Regions from separate parts of the Homo sapiens genome. Here all the other regions are linked to region 2. The links are contacts of gene promoters, found by promoter capture Hi-C in human tissues and cell types (Jung and others, 2019). All regions are on one chromosome and are shown on one strand. The core of a region is centred on a gene start or on the middle of the fragment in contact, and the rest is flanking DNA. Distances in the headings are between cores, read along the strand shown.

The links. Contacts are between HindIII fragments. The study calls those that stand out against the background at their distance.
Region 1: a contact is called between a fragment that was not itself captured here and the fragment with the promoter of DEGS2 in region 2, in 1 of the 25 tissues and cell types used here (dorsolateral prefrontal cortex).
Region 3: a contact is called between the fragment with the promoter of HHIPL1 here and the fragment with the promoter of DEGS2 in region 2, in 2 of the 25 tissues and cell types used here (H1 embryonic stem cells and stomach).

Annotation. Positions count from the first base shown.
Region 1 is chr14:99,486,964-99,490,717 of GRCh38, reverse strand. The region is part of intron 1 of CCNK (cyclin K); the gene reads right to left. Among named protein-coding and RNA genes, the nearest start is that of CCNK, 7.4 kb to the right of the region's middle. The HindIII fragment of the contact is 4,165 bases long and covers 1-3,754 here.
Region 2 is chr14:100,157,258-100,161,330 of GRCh38, reverse strand. DEGS2 (delta 4-desaturase, sphingolipid 2) reads left to right here and starts at 1,686. Exons shown (of 3, transcript NM_206918.3): 1 at 1,686-1,825. The coding sequence starts at 1,744. LOC124903380 (a long non-coding RNA gene) reads right to left here and starts at 1,294. Exons shown (of 2, transcript XR_007064330.1): 1 at 1,200-1,294; 2 at 1-23. RefSeq lists silencers at 1,340-1,739, 1,840-1,899. The HindIII fragment of the contact is 21,272 bases long and covers 1-4,073 here.
Region 3 is chr14:99,643,564-99,647,927 of GRCh38, reverse strand. HHIPL1 (HHIP like 1) reads right to left here and starts at 2,799. Exons shown (of 9, transcript NM_001127258.3): 1 at 2,466-2,799. The coding sequence starts at 2,720. The HindIII fragment of the contact is 28,378 bases long and covers 1-4,364 here.

The DNA of each region.
Region 1 (3,754 bases), core at 621-3,120, 670 kb after region 2:
CTGACCTCGTGATCCGCCTGCCTCGGCCTCCCAAAGTGCTGGAATTACAGGTGTGAGCCACCGCGCCCAGCCAGACATCTCTATTTTTTTAAAGTAATTCAAAAAATATTTACCAATAAGGAATGGGGAAAAACAGGATGGAAAAGACAGGAATGGAAACAAGACTTCTCTATGTATATATCTTTTTATACAGCTTTGCCTTTTTATGAAAGCTTTTATTTTAAACTAATTGTACGTTTACAGAAGAGCTGTAAAGATAGATGAGTTTTGTCTATACCCTTCACTTAGCTTCCCCAATGTAAACATCTTCCATAACCATGGTTCATTTATCCAAAAAAAGAAATTAACTTTGGTATAACCACTATTAACTACACATCATATTTGGGTGCAGGTGATATCAGAACAACTTACTGCTGTTAACCATGAGCTCTTGGTTAAGATGGAGTCTACCAGGTTTCTCACTGTAAATTATTATTTTTCCCTTCCTATCTTCTATTCCTTAGATGCAAGTCACGAGGTCCAGCCCACACTCAAGGGTAAAGGAATTAAGCTCTACTTTCTGGAGGCAGAGATATCAAAGAAATTGTGGACATATGTTAAAACCACCCACTAGTAAGTAAATATTTTGGGGGAAATATTTTACAATGCAAAATACTATACAAATGTCTATTTCTCCTTCAAGTTTCATCTACTAATTTTAGCATTCACCTGAGACGATTACAACTGTGGTGTTCTAATGGTGACTTTCTATTTCCTTCACTGCTTCAACATTTATTATTTGGAATCATTTTGTTAATATTTGTTTCTTCTCTCCCATTTGTTTATTTACTTTAGTACAGACATGAGTATTTTATTCTTTGGGTTATAATCCAATACTATCATTATTTATTTTGTTGCTCAAATTATTCCAATGTGGCCATTAGGTGCTCTTTCAGCTTGACTCCCTGCAGAGTACTTTTATAACTTTGATGTTTGAATCATGTAAATATTTAACATACTCATACACTTAACTAAAAATAAAAAAGCAAATCCTAAAACTCAAACCAAATGGGCAACAAAATCACACAGAAACTTACTTCCAAGTAATTTCTGATATTGTTACATGCTTAGTGAGATATATTCTAAGGACAAAAATAACTGAAAAGAATTATTTATTTGTTTATTTATTTACTTACTTACTTATTTTAGAGTCAGAGTCTTGTTCTGTCACCCAGGCTATAAGTGCAGTGGCATGATCCTAGTTCACTGCAGCATCGAACTCCTGGCCTCAAGCGATCCTCCCGCCTAGCCTCCCAAAGTGCTAGGATTATGGGTATGAGCCACAGTGGCTGGCCCCAACGAAATTTTAAAACTTCATTAGTGTACTGTTAGTAGTGTCATTAATGTTGTAATTTTCAAACACATTTTTTTTTGCATGTTGTGGAATAAAGCAAATATGTAAATGCTAATGTTGTTAGGAACCAAGATTTTCAGTGCAAAGAAAACAAATGCACACATGCAGAAAACCAAATGTTAAGAAACAAATCTGTAATGTTAAACTTTAACTGAAGATATCAAAATAAATCATGGTTAAAAAAAAATATATATATATGTATCCCATTTCTGTCCTTTTCAAGTACCAAGAAGGAATGACACTCCTAATTCTGAAATCTTAACTTTTTCAATACCAATACCCTCTAAAAGGAAGCAGGTTTCTTTCCAGTCTGGGGTTGGAGCCTGCCTGGGATGTACTCAGACTAATCAAAGCTTATCAAAAGACATAGGACTGCTGAAGGAATGATTTGCTAGGGAAAAAAAAAAAAAAGACATAGGAGCCACCATGATGGGTGCCCACTGGACTAATCCAAGGTAATTTGAATAGCAAAAAGAAAAATAACTGTGGTTGATCATAAAATAGTGAACATACAATCCAAGTGTCCATAATATTAATACATATAGAGAATAATACTTTGCTAGCACTGATAACTACTGATAATAAAATGCTACTGATAATAAATGCGACTTTGCTAGCATGGATATTAACTACTGTAAAAAAAATACAGTTGATCCTTAACAAAATGATCACACTTGACATCACTAATAGGGTGAAAACCTGACATTACATGGCTTCTGATGTGATGCAATGTGAAATAAATATCACCTACCTATGTAGTATTCTTGTCCCCCAAAAGCTTAACCTAAATTTAAGCAAACTTTTGACCGAACTTCCAGTTTACAATAAATACTGGTGGTACAAGAGTAAGTGAAAAAAGCACAACATGGAAACTATCAGTCACATCCAGAAGGTGAGACACTCTACTCAACAACTGACCCGGTCTCTTCAAAACAGTGTTATGAAAAAACATTTTGAGAGACTGTCTTAGATTTAAAAAGGCTAAAGAGGGCTACAACAAAATGCAATGTGTGAACCTTGATTAGATCCTGCTTTTTTTTTTTTTTTAAAAAAAAGAAATTTCAAACAATTTGGAAAAATTTAAGTATAAATTGTATATTAGAGGGTATTAGGGAGGGAATTACTGTCAGTTAATTTTCTTTGGGGGTAATAATGATATTGTGATTACACAGGAGAATGACTTTATTCTTAGCAGATGAAGGCTGAAGTATTTTGGGTAAAGTGTCATGATGTCTGCAACCTACTTTCAAATGGTTCAGCTAAAACACAACCACACAGTAAACATGGCAAAAAACGAACATGTGTCCACAGGTAAATAAGTTGTCATTGCACTATTCTTTCATACAATAAAAAGTTGGGGAAAAAGTCAGATGAGACTGAATAGGAGACCAGGAGGACTCCTTATCTTCATCAATCCCTCGATAGCCAAGGAATACTTGCTTATGTGTGGGTACTGCTTTCATAAATTACAACACTGTGATTTGAATTATAGCATACAAAAAGAAAAGTGAACTAATTATAAGTGTATGGCTGATTGTTTTTCACAAAGTAAACACACCTGTGTTAACACTATTCAGTTGAGAAAGAGAACAGTACCAACATTCCAGAAGCTCTCTTCGTTCTTTCCTAGTGACTATCCTCCCAAAGATAACTATTCTGACCTCTATTTCCATCAATTTGTTTTGCCTGTTTTTGAAGGACTGTGCGATGACACAGTACCACTTTTACATTTGGTTTCTTCTGCTCAATATTAAGTTCATGGGATTCATTCCTGTTGTTGCATAAAGCAGTATTTGTTCATTCTCACTGCCGCAGAGCAGTGGTTTTTAAACCTGGGACAATTTTGCCCCCCAGGGGACATTTGGCAATGTCTGAAGACACTTCTGGTTTTCCTAACTGGGGGGTTGCCACTGGCATCTAGTGTGGGTAGAGGCCAGGAATGTTGCTGAATGTCCTCAGTGCACAGAACAATCCCCCATGACAAGAAATTATCTGGTCCAACATGTCAATAGTGCCAAAGCTGAGAAAGTCTGCTGTACAGTACAGTTATATCCTATGAATGCAACACACTTTATCTATACATTCTACTGTTTGGGCATGTAAATGTTTCTGGTGTTTGATTATTAATAAGTGTTAAACATGTACATATATTCTTATAGAACAGAAGGCAACTGGACAGTTGGCTGAGGGAATCAATATCTTAGCACATCTTAGCAATTTATTCACAGTTGGGAATTGCTACTTTAATATACATACGCCTAACAGTTTTCCATGTACTTTTTCATTTAAATATTTCCTGAGCATTTACTATGAGCCAGGCCTTAATGGCATGGCAGGGCACAAGATAAGTAAGGTCTTTGC
Region 2 (4,073 bases), core at 437-2,936:
CTCTCTGGCCTCAGTTTCCTCATCTGGAAAATGAGGGCCTTGGTGAGTTTCCTCTGGATAGGCGGTGGCCTGGGGCAGAGGGAACTGGCAGGCTTGGTGTTGTCCTGAGGGTGGAGCTGGGGCTCAGGGCGGCAGATCTCACGGAGTTCAACACAGGGGCGAAGGCTCTGATTTTGGAAGCTTTTTAATTCAAAGGTCAGGGGCCAAAGTCATGCCCCAGCCTTGCTGTTAATTCCTCTGTGCCTCAGGCAAGGCGCTCCTCATCTCTGGGCCTCAGTCTCCTGATCTGTAAAGTGATGGCTGGTGGGATGACTTCTGAGGACCCTTCTGGCTGGGAACAGAGCAGGCTGCCCTGGGAGCAATGAGTCTTCTCCCAAGGGTGCAAGCTGGGCCGGGAGGCCTCCTGGGTGTGGCAAGGGGTGATGGCCATGGTGGCATGTGGGTCCCCCTGCTGATGGAAAATCTGGCCTCTGTGTCCACCTTTCCCATGGCTAATTCAGGGGATGGTGGCTGGCGGCTGCAGGACACCCATGCCTTCCTTCCTGGCTCACTCAGGACTGCCTTTGGCCCTGAGCTAAGGAAGGCCTGCCAAGTGTACCAAACCCCGGGCCATGGACTTCCATGGGACGCACAGAAGCACGCCCTCACTATGTGCGAGCCTGTGGCAGCGCTGGCTGATGTGTCAGTCAGCTCCCAGGCAACTGCCAGCCGAGGCCAGGCTCTGGCCCACAGGCACAGCAGGTCCACCCTCCAAAACTCCAAGGGAGTGGGAGAAGGAACAGAGGCATCACTGAGAGGGTGAAGATGAGGGGCCCTGTGCCCTTACCTCCCCAAAACTAGACTTTCCATTTGAGAACATTCAGGTTCTGCCTTGTTTCCAAGCGTTTGCATCTGCTGTTCCCCCTAGCACCAATGCCTTTCCCTTTTCTAGCTGTTGAACTCCTACCCACCCCTCAAGGCCCAATGCAAAAGTTCCTTCTATTGGATCCTAGCTGCTTCAGGGCCTACCTGTGTCATGGCACGTATCACCCTGAATCATAACAGCCACTTCTGTACCTGTGTCCCCATCCAGAACTCAAGTTCCCTGAAGGCAGGAGTGGGTCTGACTCATCCCTGTGAGGTTGCTGCAGACGCATTATCTCCCCTTTGCATTATTGGTGAAAGGGCCGGGTGGAGGAAGGGAGGATTGCTGCACCAACCTTTCCTCGGCGCCTGTTTACTGGCACCGTCGCATCCATTCCACGCCGATCCTCCGCAGTCCCCCTATCCTGCCAGCCGCTCCTCCTTGGGGCAGGGGCGGCGCGAGCCACAGGGGCGTGCCCGCGAGCGGGTCGGGGCTGCGGAGAGAACGGGCCGGGGTAAAAACCCGACGGCTGCCCGCGGGTGGGCGGGGCGCGCAGAGCCGGTGGGAGGCCGCGGTGGCAGCAGTCGCCCCCGCGCATCGAGGGACCCAGGGACTCGCGCAGATGGCACGCGGCCACCTCGGTCCTGCCGGGGAGCCCCATTTCCAACCGAGGCAACTGAGGTTCCCAAAGCGCCAGCTACCCGCCGGGGTCTGGAGAGCGCCGGGGCCCGGCCGCCCCGCCCAGCCAGAGGTGCCCCGCCCCAAGCCTGGCGCACCTGGCCCCGCCCCGCCGGGACCCCGCCCCCGCCCTAATCAGAGCTGGTTCCGCGCCGCGGCCGCCGCGACAGGTGCAGCAGAGCCGAGCCGGCCGCGCTCCGAACGGCGCCTCCCGCCCCACCATGGGCAACAGCGCGAGCCGCAGCGACTTCGAGTGGGTCTACACCGACCAGCCGCACACGCAGCGGCGCAAGGAGATACTGGGTGAGCGCCGCGCGGGGCCCACCCCGGTGGGGACCGCCCCGTTGGCCCGTCTGGAGTCGCGTCGTGGGGTCGAGCCCAGACGGGCCGCTCCAGCTCTGGCCCAAATTCCAGTGGGCGTTCCGCCATTGCCGCTCCCCTCCCTGGGGTCCCCGGCCGGCTCCCCGAGGGTCCCCCACCCTGGCCGGGTCTGAAACTCCCTGGGACCTGAGGATTCCGAGGACCCCAGTACGGGTCCGAGCGCCAGGGAGCGCGTCCCAGCTGTTCCTCGCGAGCCACTCCCGGGGCCAGGGCCGGGGCTCTGGGATGCTGGGACGCGAGGGCGCAGGGGCGGCCCCGGGACGCGCTACGAGGCGCACGCGCTCCCTGGCGCGGAGGCAGCTTGCGCGACGCGGGGCCTCCACCCGCAGTCACTGGGCGCCTGCTGCGCTCAGAGCCCCTGGGTCTCGCGGCCACGGGCGCCCCAGGCTGGAGTTCAGGGCGGATGAGCGCCGGGAAGGGAGCAAACGCGAATGAGAGGCGCGCGTGTTTTCTTTGAAAAAAGCAAAGATTGTACTAAAGAATCCTTCTATTCTGGCATGTCGCTTATTACGTGGTGGCTGTTTTCCTTGTTGCTTCGTGTCCTCTGCGAGGAGGGCATCTTTACCCACTCGGAGTCACTCTCGTTCATGCCAGAGGCCCCATCCCACCCACAAGCAAGGTGGCCCCGGTGAGTCGTCCTTGGCCCGGGCTTACGGGGTTAAAGGGCCTGCGTCTGGAGAGTGGCTTTTGCCAGATGCCACCAAATCGCCACAGGCTGAGACAGGCCCGCCCCTCCCGCCCTGCCTAAGTCAGCACCGCGCGTTGCCACACTTTGTAATCTTCAGTCAGATTGGGGAAACAATACCATTTCACTGTGGCTTTAATTTGCACTTATTTGATGGAGGTTTCACATTTTAATCGGGCGTTTTATTTAATTTAATTAATTTATTTATTTAGAGACAGAGTCTCGCGATCTCGGCTCACTGCGACCCCCGCCTCCCAGGTTCAAGCGATTCTCCTGCCTCAGCCTTCTGAGTAGCTGGGATTACAGGCACCTGCCACCACACCCGGCTAATTTTTGTATTTGTAGTGAGATGGAGTTTCACCATGTTGGCTAGGCGCGATCTTAGCTCACTGCAACCTCTCCCCACTGGGCTCAACTGATCCTCCTACCTCAGCCTCCTGAGTAGTTGAGACTGCAGGTGTGTACCACTATGCCCGGCTATTTTTTTTGTATTTTTACTAGAAACAGGGTCTTGCCATGTTGCCCAGGCTGGTCTCAAACTTCCGAGCTCGAGGGATCCACCCATCTCAGCCTCCCAAAGTGTTGGGACTACAGGCATGGGCCATGAGCCACCACGCCTGGCCTGAACAACTTTTTTTTTTTTTTTTTTTTTTTTTGAGAGGAAGTCTTGCTCTGTCGCCCAGACCGGAGTGCAGTGATGCGATCTCCACTCACCGCAACCTCCGCCTCCCAGGTTCAAGCGATTCTCCTGCCTCAGCCTTCTGAGTAGCTGGGATTACAGGCACCCGCCACCACACCCGGCTAATTTTGTATTTGTAGTAGAGATGGGGTTTCACCATGTTGGCTAGGCTGGTCTCAAACTCCTGACCTCAGGTGATTCACCCGCCTCTGCCTCCCAAACTGTTGGGATTACAGGTGTGAGCCACTGCGCCCAGCCAACTTTTTCTTTCTTCCTCTTTTTTTAATCCCATGGCAGCATACTGAGATACCATGACTTTTAAATGTTTGAAACCCAAGATACATTGGGTGGCTAGCCTGTGACTGCATCCCGGGGTAACTGGGGCCTCAGGAGCTGGAAGCCTCTATGTGGGTTTGTGACTGCTGTGGTTTCTCCTGGGAGGTGAGCTGCAGCCCAGCATCGTCTGGTCCCAGCAGTGGTAGCTGCCTCCCGTATGCTGTGGAACTCCTGGGGAGGGCTGGGAGGAACCTTGGGGGTCATCTGACCCTCCCTCCCTGCTCATCATGTGAACAGGGCAGGTGTCCTGGCTACTGCCCCTCAGCAGGTCTGAGGTGGGGCTGAGGCTGGAGCAGGGGCCTCCTTGGCCCTGTTTGCATTTCTGTCCCCTCCCCTGGCTATCCCCAGCTTCACTTCACAGGACTCATTGGGTATCTGGCACCATGTGGAAAAGGCAAGAGGCACATGGCAGCCAGTGTCCTGGTCCCTAGGAGCTCATATCCATAGAATAGGAGCTGGGCCTACCTCAG
Region 3 (4,364 bases), core at 1,550-4,049, 510 kb after region 2:
AGCTCACACCAGATGCACTGGGGATGCCACGTGCCATGGCTGTCCTCTCTCCTCCAGAGGACACAGGCACTTACTGGACAAGCAAAGCCTCAGGAAAGAGTCTCCCATCCCCCCAAAGCAGGTGTGAAGGCCTGAGTGCCTCCACACTGACAGAGACCTATGAATAAGGCACCTCCACCACCTCCCCGTGTGGAAATCAGGAGGTGCCAAATGCAGACTCTGCCTTGGCTAGCAGAGAGCATGGTCCTCCCGCCAGCATGCTCCAGGAGGCCCCGTCAGTGAAACCATAACCCAGCCTCAGCCGCCGTCTCTAAGCTCACTCCAGACATGAGGTCACTCTCAGAGACGCCTGGGCTGAAGTGTTAGTGGTCACTCCTGCTAACTGCTGGTTGCTTAAAGCCAGGCTGTCCTGGGAAGTTTCCCAAGAAACCTGCCAGGGGACAGCATCAGGACTGACCCTTCCCTTCCTCCATCCACCTGCCCACCTCACTGCCGTGCTGAGCCTGGCACATAGCAAGTGCTCAATAGACAAATGTGGCATGGATGCAGGAACTCTGCTATGTGATGGGGGTAGGGAGACCAAAGGACCTGGTCCTGAGGAGCCCCCAGGCTGGTGAGGGAGGCAGACGCTTGGCCAGACCATTCCCGTGCCCTTGAGGTGTACAGCATGGGAGTCCAGCAGAGCCCACCTAAAGGTGGCCAGCCCACCCTCTGTTGCATTCTGGAGCTCCCCAGGGCCCCCTCCTCATCCTCCCAGAGTCTACTGCTTCCCACCTAAGATATGAGCTCGCTTCAGCGAGTGTGGTCCATGTCCCCACCTCAACCACCGCTGGGCTGTGCGACCACTGGGCAAGTCCCTGCCTGCCTCTGAGTCTTCCTTGATTCGGGCTCCAAGCCTCACCTGGACCCTTCCCAGGGCTGGGCAGCCAGTGAGGGCCAAGGAAGCCCTCGAGAAATCCAACTGCAAACACTTACCGAGCCCCTAGTATGTGGCATTTAATCTGCATGGCCACCCAGGGGGGTGGTTAAGGTTTTATTTTATTTATTTTATGTATCATATTATATCATATTATATTATATTATATTATATTATATCATATCATATCATATCATATCATATCATATCATATCATATTATATTATATTATATTTTTGAGACGGAGTCTTGCTCTGTTGCCCAGGCTGGGGTGCAGTGGCTCAATCTTGGCTCACTGCAACCTCTGCCTCCCAGAGTCAAGTGCTTCTCCTGCCTCAGCCTCCCGAGTAGCTGGGATTACAGGAGCTCCCCAACATGCCCAGTTAATTTTTGTATTTTTGTAGAGATGGAGTTTCGCCATGTTGGCCAGGCTGGTCTCGAACTCCTGACCTCAAGTGATCTGCCCACCTTGGCCTCCCAAAGTGCTGGGATTACAGGCATAAGCCACCATACTCAGCTTCATTTTAAAGATATTGTGAGGTGCAGCAGTGACCTGCCCAGGTCACGAAGCTGGGGAAGTGACAGAGCCAGGATCAAACTCCAACTCCAAGTCAGCCTTCTTGCCCTTCCCCACACCACCTGCCCCTGCTGGCCGAAGGCTGGGACACGGCCCTGGCCCCTGGGGCCTCTCCACCCCAGGCCTCTCACTGCCCAGATGCTGAGGCAGGAATGCCTTGGGGCTGCCCGTCCTGCTCCATTTCTGCATTCAGCCAGGCAACATTTGCCCACTTGGGTGTGGTCAGGCCCTGGGGCCTCAGACTCCCACAAGAGGAAAACAAATAGCGGTGGCACCACCAGGTGTGCACAGAAGCAGGGGCTCCACCCTCAGAGGGAAGATGGGGGGCCCAGGGGCTTCAACAAAGAGCTGTCGCTCAGTCTTGAGAGAGCTTCTGCAGGCCAGGGCGCCATCCCCAGGAGAGGGCACAGCACCCACAGAGGTGGTGGCGGAAGTGGCAAGGGCATCAGGATGGGGGTGAGACGCTCGTGGGGGACAGTGGCCCCAACCCCCTCAACAAACCCGGGCCACACGTTGACCACGCCCACGCCAGGGCCCCCTGCTTTCACTGCCCCGGGGACAACACAAAGGAGCACTGACCGGGACAGATGCCTCTCCACCTTGGTACCCCGACAAGGGTGCAGCTGCTCGGGGTGGGACGCTGAGGGGTCGACTCCAGGGGACTGGGGCAGAAGAGCCCCCAACCTCTGAGGAAATGATGACATCATCTGTCCGTCCGTCCGTCCTTCCTGCTTCAGGAGGGGAAACTGAGGCCCCGAGAAGGCCCAAGTCACAAAACTAATGAATGGCAAAGCCAAGAGTCGTCCTGGGATGCGCGGTCTCCCCGCCCCGTGCCAAATGACTCCCTGTTGGGGCTTAGAGTTCCCGAGTCCGCCGCCCACTCTTGGCCCTCGCCCCCGCGGGGTTCCGATCTCTGCTCCAGGACTCGGCCTCCCGCGCCCCGCCCCGCCCGGTGGCCGCGCGCCCGCTCACCTGGCACAGCAGGTCCCTCGCGTAGCCGGCGCACGCGGCCCACTCGGCGGCGTCCACGCGGCTCGCCAGGGCCCAGAAGCGGCGGGTCAGCTCGGCGTCGCGCCCCTCATCGCAGCAGCCGAAGTCCGAGTACTGCGCGCAGAGGCGCAGCGGCTGCGTCGGCCGGAAGGGCGGCCTGAAGTCCAGGCACTGCGGATGCGCGGCGGCCCCGAGCACCCAAAGCGCCAGCAGCGCCCCGGCCCTGGCCCGGGCCATCGCTACGCCCCGCGGGGGAAGAGGCGGAGGGACGGCAGCCCCGGTCCCCTCCCGGGGCGCTCGCGGCGGCAGGGAAGGGGCGGGCGCTCCCCTTCCCTACACGCAGGGCCTCGAGTTTGGGGACCTCCCCTTCTAGGAGGTCACCTCTGGTCGGGGACACTCGGCGGGACTGAAGGAAGAGGGACGCGGCGCAGAATGCGGCACGACCTCTTTTAACCGCTTTCCAAATTCGATGGGAGTGGCCCGGTCTGTTTAAAGCCCCGGTGTGTTTTCCCGGTTCCGCCTGGGGCCCTGCTTCCTCCCCACAGGGCGCTCTTTAGCCAGGGAGGCGCAGGGCCAGAGGCCTGGACTCCTGGGCTTCGGTTCCACCTCCCACTGGGCTAGGGAAACGGATGCCCGCAGCCCGTCCCCGAAAGCTCCCACGTAACATTTTAAAAATGGGGGTGCGAGGGAAAGAACAGGGGGTGTTGCCCCAGGACTCTCAGGGAGAAGTGAAACCTGGCGTAGGGGTGGGGAGGGAGGACGGAGCAGTCTCCGCAGTCCACCCTTTGCCCTTACTGTGGGCTTCTTCCCAGTCTCTGCTCCTGGGGCAGCGGATTCTCCTGCAGCCCAGGACCCACTGGGGCTCCCCACTTCCACTCTCGCATAGGGAGCACTGATGAATCTACCTCCTGGGATGGGCATCCAGCCCTTTGTTCCGCTGCCCCCGCTGGAGATTCAGACCCAACCCCGCCCCACCCCCCCACACACATACAGACGCACACACGCTGTCTTACCTACCCCAGAATCTCATGGCACCAAAACCACCCACACAGACAAACACACACACACTGTCTCACCTACCCTAGAATCTCACAGCACCAAAACCACCCAGGCATTTTTCTCAAGTGGACCTCAGCGTTTGCTTCTCCCTGGAGTGTCCTTCCCCATCTTCTCTGTCCAGTGAGCTCCTACTCCATCTTCATGGCCCCAACGCACACATCCGTCCTCTGCAGGTCTCTTTGGACTGTCCTGGGGGATCATGTTTCTGTCTTTGGGCCCATGCTCCTGGCAGAGCTGGGGGTGGATGAGATGCGGCAGGGCTGGAGCACTCAGAGGTCTGTGGCTCTGGCCTGAACAGGTGCAGTGTAAGAGTCAGGGTCTCCGCACAGCCAAACATCTCTGAGTATTTGAAACACGGGGAATTTAACGCAGGGACTTGAAGCCAAAGAGGCTAAGAAGCCATACAGGGCTCAGTGAAGTAACCTTGAGATCAGCAACAGTAGGAACAGTCCCCAGGTCCTTGATGCAGGAAGAGCAGATGTTACTGGAGCCAAGGAGCTATGGTCACCTTGTCAAAGCTGGACCCTCACAAGGCCTGTCTGGCCACAGCTGGAGATAGCCACTGTCAGAGATTCTGCACAGACAGAGGAGGAGAAATACCCCGGCTTCTCCCTGCCACTTCCCCTCCAACTCCCACCTGTGGCTTTCATTGGCTGAACCTAGCAGAGGGCTGCTAGGGTGGGAAATGCGGCCTGCAACGGCTTCCTGCACAGACAGCTGGGAATAGGCAGAGCCAGGATGGAATCGGAGGGCACGATGGCGCCTACTTCCCAGCTGGGACTCAGAACTGGGTGATAGTCACACATCAACACAGGGCTCCAG